2 separate regions of the Homo sapiens genome follow, and region 2 is linked to region 1. The links are contacts of gene promoters, found by promoter capture Hi-C in human tissues and cell types (Jung and others, 2019). All regions are on one chromosome and are shown on one strand. The core of a region is centred on a gene start or on the middle of the fragment in contact, and the rest is flanking DNA. Distances in the headings are between cores, read along the strand shown.

What was found. Contacts are between HindIII fragments. The study calls those that stand out against the background at their distance.
Region 2: a contact is called between a fragment that was not itself captured here and the fragment with the promoter of PIEZO2 in region 1, in 4 of the 25 tissues and cell types used here (IMR-90 fibroblasts, lymphoblastoid cells, mesenchymal stem cells and 1 more).

What each region holds. Positions count from the first base shown.
Region 1 is chr18:11,147,190-11,152,534 of GRCh38, reverse strand. PIEZO2 (piezo type mechanosensitive ion channel component 2) reads left to right here and starts at 2,966. Exons shown (of 56, transcript NM_001378183.1): 1 at 2,966-4,010. The coding sequence starts at 3,947. It overlaps LOC124904249 (a long non-coding RNA gene), which reads left to right and starts at 4,019. Exons shown (of 2, transcript XR_007066288.1): 1 at 4,019-5,345. RefSeq lists silencers at 2,614-3,063, 3,304-3,583, 3,604-3,783, 3,794-3,863 and enhancers at 3,557-4,395, 4,424-4,473. The HindIII fragment of the contact is 6,242 bases long and covers 1-5,345 here.
Region 2 is chr18:10,598,841-10,604,185 of GRCh38, reverse strand. No RefSeq gene overlaps it. Among named protein-coding and RNA genes, the nearest start is that of LINC01887, 25 kb to the left of the region's middle. The HindIII fragment of the contact is 6,596 bases long and covers 1-5,276 here.

The DNA of each region.
Region 1 (5,345 bases), core at 1,717-4,216:
GCTACCTGGGAGGCTGAGGCAAGAGAATCACTTGAACCTGGGAGGCGGAGGTTGCAGTGATCTGAGATTGTGCCATTGCACTCCAGCCTGGGCAACAGAGTGTGACTTCATCTCAAAAAAAAAAAAAAAAAGATAAATCTAAACAGGTGAGATGAAATGCACACAAGGCAAAAAATGACACACTATGGAGAAAACCTTGAACACTTAAGAAAATGTTGATCAGTTCTTAAACATATTGCTGGGAGCATAAACATATTGCTGTCTGTCTCACTGCAGGTCACTGTGCTTTAGCATAATTGTTTGATAAATGTAGAATTAGTTCTTGTTTTTCAACAACAATAATAACAACAATAATAGGAATAATAGCAGCCAATATTCATTGAATGATTACTATGCACCAGGCATTTCTCTAAGAACTCTATAAACTGTCTCTATCTGTGTAGACTCCATATTGGGTAGGTTTTACTGCTTTCCTTAACTTACAGATGAAGAAGCTGAGGCACTAAAAGTCTCAATAATGATCAAAAGAAGTCATTGTTTGTCATTGTGGATGCAGAGAGGCATAGGGTGTCTGGTGCTTAATTCATTACCGGGGTAAACTGGTGATTATACACATCAGGTACCCATGAAATATCAAAATAATATGTCCATGAGTATTTTACATGTTTGATTTCTCCCCAAAGCATTTTTAAACTCACATACTCTTTCAAATTTTAGACAAGATTCTGGCAAACTTTGGAATAAAGTTTGCCAGGCAAGCAGAGCTCCCGAACAGTGATCAATACCCTCATGGGCTGGTGAGTCCTTAAAAACTAACCTGTCTAGACACCAGATACTGCTTCTATGAGAGCAGGGAAAATTGAGGGTTAAACAGCCCTTGTAAAAACAATGCCACTGCTATGGATATGTATGCTCAAGTCAAGTCCATTGTGAAAGAAAATACAGCTTCAGAAAGGTGGATGAGGTTTGGAGATGCTGGTTTTGAAAGCCAATGGACTATTTTCTGAGTCTGATATGAAAATGAGGACAGCGGTCTTCACCCCTGACTGCATACTTAAGAATCACTTGAGAGCTTTAAGAAAAATACAGGTGTGGGGGCCCCATCGCAGACCAATTAAATCAGGATTTCAGGGAGTGTGGAGACTGAGCGTTTTTCAAAAGCTCCCCAGGTGACTGCAACATGTAGCCAGCATGGAGAAGCCTATTTCAGATGTAGTCTAGACCGCTGAAACTTCCCCTTGAGTACATACGTTGGAAGTCTCAGAACTGGGATGTAGTTGTTAAAATCTCTAACGCCCCAGCAGCCAAGTTGGTACACACTGTGGCAGAGAAAGCTCGAAGTTTATTTGGTAAGACCACCCACCTGCTGGGAATCTTGTGCCTCCCAGCTTATGTTATTTTGAAAGAGAATTATTGTGAAAAAGTCTAGACAGTTGTTAGTATGGGAAGCCTATCAAGAACATAAGAAAGTATTCAGAGAATACAGAATTCATGTGATGACACAGTATTATTTAAAATTCAGGAGTCCTTCACCTATTAGCTCCCAAGAATGAGTCGTACATGGGGTGAGGTGGGGAGGGCATGGATGTGAAGGCAGACTTATGAACATCAAAATTAGTGGTAGATTTATATCAGGCTTCTACAAACAGGCTACACAAACCATTTCTTGATAGCATTTCTTGGTGACTGGATGCTAATTTAAGTTCTATCGTCTCCTGTAGGTCTGCTGTTGAGCTCATGACTACGCCCGGGTTTAGGTGCTATCTAAGCTTCTTGAGGATGGCAGAGCACATGGGTGGTTTAAGTTTCAGGGTGTCTTCACCATATGCCAACTGTCTTGAGTCTTCATTCAAAAAGCAATGGTTCATAGTTTTTCTGTAATTCTCAGAGAATTCGTGAAGGCACCTGAGCTCAAACCACAAGCTTACCCTGTCTCAAAAAAGGGATGTCCACAAAAGCGTTTCAAATGGCTAAAAAGACGGGGGTTTGCCTGTTTTTCATCAGCTCACTGCTCTATCCCCTCCAACTAATGCAAGCCAGGAATGTAGGTGCGGAAGGGAAGCCAGGTCCTTCCCAGTGTGTCCTCCTGATGGAATGCCAGTCCTGAACAGTCCTCTCTACAGATGCTAACAGCCTCTTCCTCCATGTCCGGAAAGACCCCTACTGTGCTCTAGCAAATCTCCTCCACTCTCGGATAACAGTTAAATAAAAGACCCAGGCACACTGCAGTCTCCCAGCTAGAGCCAGATTTCTCTAGATCTTGCCTAGAACAGGCAAAAAGCAGTGCACTAGGAGAAAGGGAGAATATTCTCAGTGCCAACGCTCTCTTTCCCCAGAGCCACGACAAGCAAGGAGCAAAACTGAGGTGAAAACGGAGAGTTCCCCCAAATGCACAAAGTGGGTGCATTATCTGTTGGGGAAGACCCGGGATTTCCCAGAGTCTATTCAGAATGGCAAGTTCTTGCTATGTGAAATATGGGCAGGGTCAACGGTGTAGATGAATTCAGCTCTATTCTTCTTAATGCCAGTGTGCACCTGTGGACCCAGCAGAAGTCGGGGTCGCACAGGACTCTCCAAGCCCCTGGCTTCTCTCCTGCCGGGCCTGTGCGTTTCCCTCGGACCTTAAACGGTTCCCTGGGTTTGGGCAAGCTCAGGGCCCGGCCGGGTGGACTGGATGCCAGGGTGCACCACCGGAATGACAGAACCACGCAGAGCCGCGGGGCTGCGGGAGCCAGTGGGGCAGGAGTGCCCGCGGAGGGCGAGCCAAGGCGCGCAGCCCACTGGCAGGCCAGGCCGGGTCTCTCCCAGGCGCGGGAGCCGCGGGTGGGGGCTTGCCCTCCGCGCCGGTGCAAGGCTCTCACTTCCCCAGCCGCTCAGGGGCGGGCTCCGCGCGCGCAGGCCCCGGAGCCGCCATCCCATTGGCCGGGGGACACGCCCGTCCCCGAGTGAGGGCTTCGAAAGTTTCATTGAAGGTGGAGAAGCGCGCGCCGCCGGGGAGCCCCGGCTGCGCCGCGAGGGCGAGGCTGCAAGGCGGCAGGCGGTGGTCGCGCTGGGCGACGGGACGGCGCTGGTTTTTCTCTTGAGTTTTAAATTGAGGCGGTGGAGGAGGGAGTGGGAGACCCACTCACCCGATATGCGCTCTGGTCTCCATTTCTCCCCACGCTCGCGCCGTTCCTTCGAGTGAGGGAGGGACTCGCAGCGCCGCCCGCGCACCGGACCCACAAGGCGAGCCCCGTGGTGGCGGGGATGGTTCTGCGCGCCTGGCAGCTCCCACCCCGGTCTCTCCGGCCCGAAGCTGGGGGGCGCAGGGGCTGAGCTGCGCTGCCTCTCGGGGATCCGCCGCGGGCCGCCTGGGGGCTGGAGGGCGAGACCCGGAGCCCGCCGGGCAGCTCCGAGAGCCGGGGCCGAGGCCAGAGCGCGGCAGCCTGCGTGGGCAGCGGAGACGAGGCCGGGCAAAGGAGACGCGGTGGCTTCAGAGGGGCTTCCAAGTAGAAAACTCCCCGGCCGCCCCCAAACGACGCCCCGGGAGCCAGGCGGGAGCACAGCACGCCCTTCTTGCCCCCTTTGCTCGCCGCGCCGCCTCCCAGGACCCTCCCAAAGCGTCCCTCTCCAAGGCCCCGGCATCAGCTACCCCTGAAGAAGCCGCCGCCGCTGCCGGATCCAGGATTCACACTAAATGGGCCGGCCGCAGGGGGCCGGGCGCCGGGCTAGGTGGCCGCCAAGAGCCTGGTGAGGGGCTACCCAGAGCCCGGTGGGCGAGGGGCGGCCAAGAGCCCCGGGAGCGTGCCCTCGGGGCGGAGAGCGTCGCGGCCCGCGCCGAGGCGATGCTCGGGTGGCTGCGAGCTGCCGGCGGCGAGAGGCCATAGACGGGCATGGGCCTTGCGTCCCACCACCCCTAGGGACCCTCGAGCCTCGCCCCTCTGCTCCGACTCGCCGGACCGACGCGATGGCCTCAGAAGTGGTGTGCGGGCTCATCTTCAGGCTGCTGCTGCCCATCTGCCTGGCAGTAGGTGAGTCTGGTCCGCTTTCCGAGGGCACTTGAGGAGGACGAGGGGGGCGCCTGGGTGGGGGACTTCTTAACAAAGTGAAGGGCTCTGGTGCTCTGGGGTTCGATTCGGGAGGCCAGCGGCGTCAGACGCGCGCTGTCCCTGGTGCACAGCCTGGCTCTCTCACTTCCCACTCTGGGGCGCGCGATCGGGGTATCTCTTAACAGGATGCTCGGGACGGGCATGTGCTGGAAACTGTTTATGTTGAATTTAGTTACACGTGGATTTTCTTTCGTGGAGTACTGACTTGTGTACTAAGGATGGCCATTGCTGTGGCTGGAAGGCGGATGCGTCCCCATCGTAGGTACAGTCAGGCTCCTACCTGAGCCCCTCGCCCCAGTGACCCTGCAAGCACAGCATGCTGTGCCTCCAGACGGCCCAGAGGCCATCTCTCCCAGACCCCAAATCCCAGCAACCGTGAAGGAAGAAGTGAAGGACTCCGGTCATTCAAAAAAGAAAAAGAGGGACGAGGTACAGGGAGACAGTGCCTTGACGTTTCTTACTTATTTTTTAAAACCTCCACAAAAGCCCCTACTACAAAAGTACTGGATGCTAAGGCTATAGACCCCCAACACCTAGTCCCGCCTCCCAGCGGCCGCCCTCTCCAGATTTTAAAGGGTTAGAAAGCAGGGTTGGAACTCCTTGGGACTGGCAAGGGCCCAGGGAGGACCGCAAGGGAGCCTCCTCGACGCCCAGACAAGCGTTGCACCGTTTCCCCAGGACTGGCCTGGCGTGCAAAGCAACTGGGTGCTGCGTTCTGGGAGTCGGACCGTTTCTGATCTTCTCCTCAAACAGGCAGTGCCTGTGACATTGAATTCCTCTCGTAAGAATGCCGGGCCCTGGTTCTTTGCTCTCCCTCTCACCAACAAGAGCTAGGAAGTAGAGCGCTTTTCACCAAGTAGTAACTGTATTTACAGAGGGCGTGGCCTTCGCAGAAAAGGCCACCTTTTTGCATCTTGACCGAGGTTGATGACTCTGCATCTTGACCGAGGTTGATCACACCTGTGTTAAATGTTTTCTTTGTGCAAGCAATCGAATGGGGGCTGTAGCGTGATTGGTGAGGGTCAGGACAGTTGCCGGGAGAGTTTTTGTAACACACTTCGTGAGTGAAGAGTCTGGGAGGCGTCTTTTCAACAAACCTCAGCGGAAAACCCAGAAAGGCGCTCCGAGTGGAGGGAAGGTGTGGCCAGGCGGGGTCCCGGGGCAGCAGGAGGGACCCACGGGTGGATGCTGGCCTCGTTCTCTACTTTGCAGTTTGAGTTTCCATTTTGCAGGGGTCTAGTCTCACTCGCATAGATG
Region 2 (5,345 bases), core at 729-3,228, 550 kb after region 1:
CCCTCATATTGTCTTATGCCCAATTTCTGCCTCCAAAGAAAGAAGAAGTAAAAACTAAAAGGCAGAAATGAAATTCACAAGCAGACAGCCCAGCACCACACACAGCCCAGCCCTGGTAGTTAAAGATAGACCCCTGACCTAATCGGTTATGTTATCTATAGATTACAGAGATTGTGTAGAAAAGCACTGTGAAAATCTCTGTCCTGTTGTGTTCCGTTCTAATTACCGGTGCATGCAGCCCCCAGTCACGTACCCCCTGCTTGCTCAATCGATCACGACCCTCTCATGCGGACCCCCTTAGAGTTGTGAGCCCTTAAAAGGGACAGGAATTGCTTACTTGGGGAGCTCGGCTCTTGAGATAGGAGTCTTGCCAATGCTCCCGGCCGAATAAAGCCCTTCCTTCTTTAACTTGGTGTCTGAGGAGTTTTGTCTGCTACTCGTCCTGCTACATTTCTTGGTTCCCTGACCAGGAAGCGAGGTGATTGGCGGATGGTTGAAGCAGCTCCTTAGGTGGCTTAAGCCTGCCCTGTGGAACATCCCTGCGGGGGACTCCGACCAGCCCTCCGCTCTCTGACGTGGATCATGAGAGCATCCTGGGCAGGCAATTGCCCCAGTGGGACGCCTCGCCAGAGCAGTGTGTAGCAGGCCCCCGTGGAGAATCAATGCAGTGGCTGAACACCGGGAAGGAACTGGTACTTGCAGTGCAGACATCTGAAACTTGGTAAGACTAGTCTTTGGAACCTGCAAACCTGCCTACTCCATTTGAGTGGAAGCGTGGCCTGATCACCCACAGTGTGCCTTTATTGGCACTTTGGTTTTTGTTTTTGACTTGACTTGGATTGCTTGATACTTTGGTTTTGGTTTTGACCTGGCTTAGATTTCTGGATACTCTGATTTTGGTTTGGTGTAAACTGCAAAAGTGTGTGTGTGCCCTTTTTACCTGTTCTTTGTTTTGTGGTGTGCGTGTGGTGTGAGTGTTGTGTTTTGTCTTGAAGAAGCATGGGTCAGGCACAAATAAGCCCATCCTACTAGGAACCATGTTGAAAAATTTCAAAAAAGGATTTAAGGGAGACTATGGAGTACTATGACACCAGGAAAACTTAAAACTTTGTGTAAAATAGACTGACCAGCATTAGAGGTGGGTTGGCCATCAGAAGGAAGCCTGGACAGGTCCCTTGTTTCAAAGGTGTGGCACAAGGTAACCTGTAAGCCAGGGCACCCAGATCAGTTCCCATACATAGACGCTTGGTTACAGCTGGTTTTAGATCTCTCCACAGTGGTTGAGAGAACAGCAGCATAAGCGAGGCAGAGAGAGAGACACAGAGAGGAGAGAGAGAGAGGCAGAAAGGAGAGAGAGAGGAGAGAGAGAGAGGCAGAGAGGAGAGAGAGAGAAGCAGATAAACAGAGGAAGAGACAGAGGCAAAAGGAAAGTCAAAGAGAGAGAGACAAAGTCAAAGAGAGAAAGAGAGATATATACAAGTAGCTAAGAAAAAACAGTTTATGTGCAAGGTGTATAAGGAAATTAAAATATACCTTTGGTAAAAGAATTATAAGGAGGCATAAGAATATAAATTTTTACCTATATTAGAAGGTTAAAAATGTGTATACTTTGTTTTAAAGGTTTAATCAAGTTTTAAAATGTACACTGAAAAGAAAATTCTGTGTGTAAACATTGGCTAAAGTTAGAGGTATCATCCAGTTTTGCTGTAAACTGGACATTAAAATAAAAGCATAGCAGATTTTTCTTAAAGCACCAACCTGCTCTTTAGCAAAAATTATAAAAGGTTAAAAAGAGTCTATAAAATCTTACCTTATGGTCAAACATTAAAAATTGGATAAATATGTCTACAAGGTTTTATTAAAATTAGGTTTAACATTAATAACACACTAATATAAAGGTAAAATTTAGCTTATCTGGTATAAAAATCATACAAATAGCATTGCTAAATGTAAAGTGGTATTTGCCTTTCTTTGGTTTAAAAACTAATAAAAATAGGTGCTAACGGAAATTTCTCAGTAAGAAGGCACCAAGGACTATAAAGTCCACTGCCAAGGTCCCCACATTTAAAACAAAAGGTCAATTTCTTAGAAATTATATACTCGGTGTATCTTCCACTTTCCTTTCCCTCAAAAACTAAAAGTCTTTTAGTACAGGTACCACCCCTAGAATTTCCGGTAAACCAGCACCAGCCTGAAAATCACGTTCTTATCAAAGGGTGGAAAGAAGAAAAACTCGAGCCAGCCTGGGAAGGACCCTACCTTGGGCTGCTAACCACCAAGACTGCTGTTTGTACAGAAAAAAAAAGGGTGGACTCACCACACCCGAGTCAAGAAAGCGCCACCCCTTCCAGAGTCGTGGGCCATAGTCCCAGGGGAAAACCCTACCAAACTAAAGCTGAGAAAAATTTAATTCTTTTCATCTATTCTATTACTCTTTCTTCTTTCCTTGCTCTGTTGCTGACCATCTGGTTATTAACATAACCAAGTCAATTTCACCTTGAACTATTGCATTTAATGCTTGTCTTGTTAGACCCTGTGGGGACTTGCCAAGTCGAAGACAGCTCTCTACTTCAGAAAAGTACCTCTGTCCCTCCTGACTCTCCTCAGACTGGGCATTAGTAAACTAGGACCATTTAATCCGGGCAGATTTCAATAAAGACCCCAGTGCCAACCAGGAGTCTTACCCCCAATGTAGAGCTTTAATGCCTTAGTTGGTCCAATGTTCTGTGGACCACTAAAGAGCAAGGATGGACTGCCCCAACCGGTTTTTGTAATTTCCTAAAATCATACATTCATTTTACTAGAGGATCATAGAAGTTAAAGACTTAAAACAAACTTTGGCAATTAAGACAGCATACCAAGATGCAAATACCTGGTTAAAATTGATCAAATATTCCTTCTGCATGTTAAACAAAAGCAATTGTTATTCTTGTGCACATGGCAGGCCAGAGGCCCAGATTGTCTCGTTTCCACTAAGGTGGTCCTCCAGTTGACCAGGCGTAGGCTGCATGGTAGCTCTTTTCCAGGATTCTACAGCCTGGAGTAATAAGTCATGCCAAGCTCTCTCTGCTATATCCCGAAGTCCGGCACCCTGCGGGTCAGCCCCTGAGAGCCATCCAGCTTCCATCTCCCAACACTAAGTTCACTTTGTGTCTCTCACGACAGGCAGGAAACAGCATTCCTTGGAGACCTGAAGGGATGCAATGAGCTTAAGAATTTTCAAGAGCTTATCAATCAGTCAGCCCTTGTTCATCCCTGCGCGGACGTGTGGTGGTATTGTGGTGAACCTTTACTGGACACTCTGCTGAATAACTGGAGTGGCACTTGTGGTTTAGTCCATCTGGCTATCCCTTTCACCCTGGCATTTCATCAACCAGAAGGAGAAAAAAATAAGACATCGTAAAGCGAGAGAAGCCCCTTATGGGTCTTTCAACTCTCACATCTATTTAGATGCAATTGGAGCCCCACAAGGAATAACAGATCAATTTAAAGCTTGAAATCAAATAGCTACAGGATTTAAGTCAATATTTTAGTATGTGACAGTTAATAAAAATCTAGATTAGATAAATTACATCTATTACAACCAACAGCAACAAGCTTTTCATGAATTTAAACAAAACAAAACAAAACAAAAAAAACTCATGTCGGCCCCAGCCCTGGGGCTACCTGACCTGACAAAACCCTTTACACCCTGTGTATCACAAAGAGAAAAAATGGCAGTTGGAGTTTTAACCCAGACTGTAGGGCCCTGGCCAAGGCCACTGGCCTATCTCTCAAAACAACTAGACGGGGTTTCCAAAGGCTGGCCCCCATGTCTAAGGACTCTGGCAGCAATGGCCCTGTTAGCACAAGAAGCAGATAAGCTCACTCTTAGGCAAAACCTAAACATTAAGTCCCCCATGCTGTGGTGACTTTAATAAACAGCAAAGGACATTATTAGCTAATGAATGCTAGACTAACTAGATGCCAAAGCTTGCTCTGTGAAAATCCCCGCATAACCAGTGAAGTTTGCAACACCCTAAACCCCACCACCTTGCTCCTGGTATCAGACAGCCCAGTTGAACATAACTATGTAGAGGTACTGGACTCAGTTTATTCCAGTGGGCCCGACCTCCGAGACCAACCTTAAACATCAGTAGACTAGGAGCTGTACGTGGATGGGAGCAGCTTCGCCAACCCCTGCAAAGTGACTCTGAAAAAGACAACAAGCCCTGCTCCAGTCACACCCGGGAGCTGACTGGTCCATGCACAGCCGAAGCATGAGAAAACTCATCGCGGGACTCATTTTCCTTAAAACTTGGACTTGTACAGTAAGGACTTCAACTGACCTTCCTCAGACTAAGAGCTGTTCCCAGTGTATACATCAAGTCACTGAGGTAGGACAAAAAGTCGCTACAGTCCTATTATTTTATGGTTATTATAAGAGTACTGGAACTCTAAAAACAAAGCTTGTTTGTATAATGTTATTCTATGCAAGGTACGTAGCCCAGGAAATGACCAACCTGATGTATGTTATGACCCAGCTGAGGATCCCATGACCACAGTTTTTAAAATAAGATTAAGAACTGAAGACTGGTAGGGCTGTTCACTTTCGTTTATAAGTAGAATGAGTATATACTCTAATATAATGATAAGGAAAATAGCATGGTAAATACATAAACCAGTGAAAGTCATTCGCTGTCATTATCAAGTATGATGTACCGCACATAATTACATGTGCTGGACTTTTACACGACTGGCCATGAAGCAAGTGTGTTTATACCAGCACCGCCACTAACACATGAGCAATGCATTGCTATACAACTTTACTATGGCTCTGACATCACTGGACAATAGGGATTTTTCATCTCCATTATAATCTTATGGGACTGCATGTTCATATGTGCAACCCATCATTGACCAAAACGTTATCTGATGCATGACTGTATTTTGTGTCTTGCTTTCCTGCTAGAGTAATGCTTCTTAAGCATGCATTTACAGTTGACTCTCATGATTCATAAATTTGGACTTGACAAATCTGCCTACTCGCCAAAATTCACATGTAACCCCAAAGTCAATACTCACAGTGCTTTTGAGGTAATTCACAGGCATGCATGAGTGACACAAGATTTGAGTTGCTCAAATGCACGTTCCCAGCTGAGGTGGAACAAGGCGATGCTCGGCCTTCTTGTTTTGGCTCACGCTGTGAACAAGCTTCCTTAGCATGGTCTAGTTAGTGTCATTTTGCCACATTTTTGTGCTTCCTGTTGATTTTGCTGTTGAAAAGGCCCCAAGCACAGTGATTTCGTGCTGGCTAGTGTTCCTAAGAGCAAGAAGGCTGTGATGTGCCTTACAGAGAAAATACG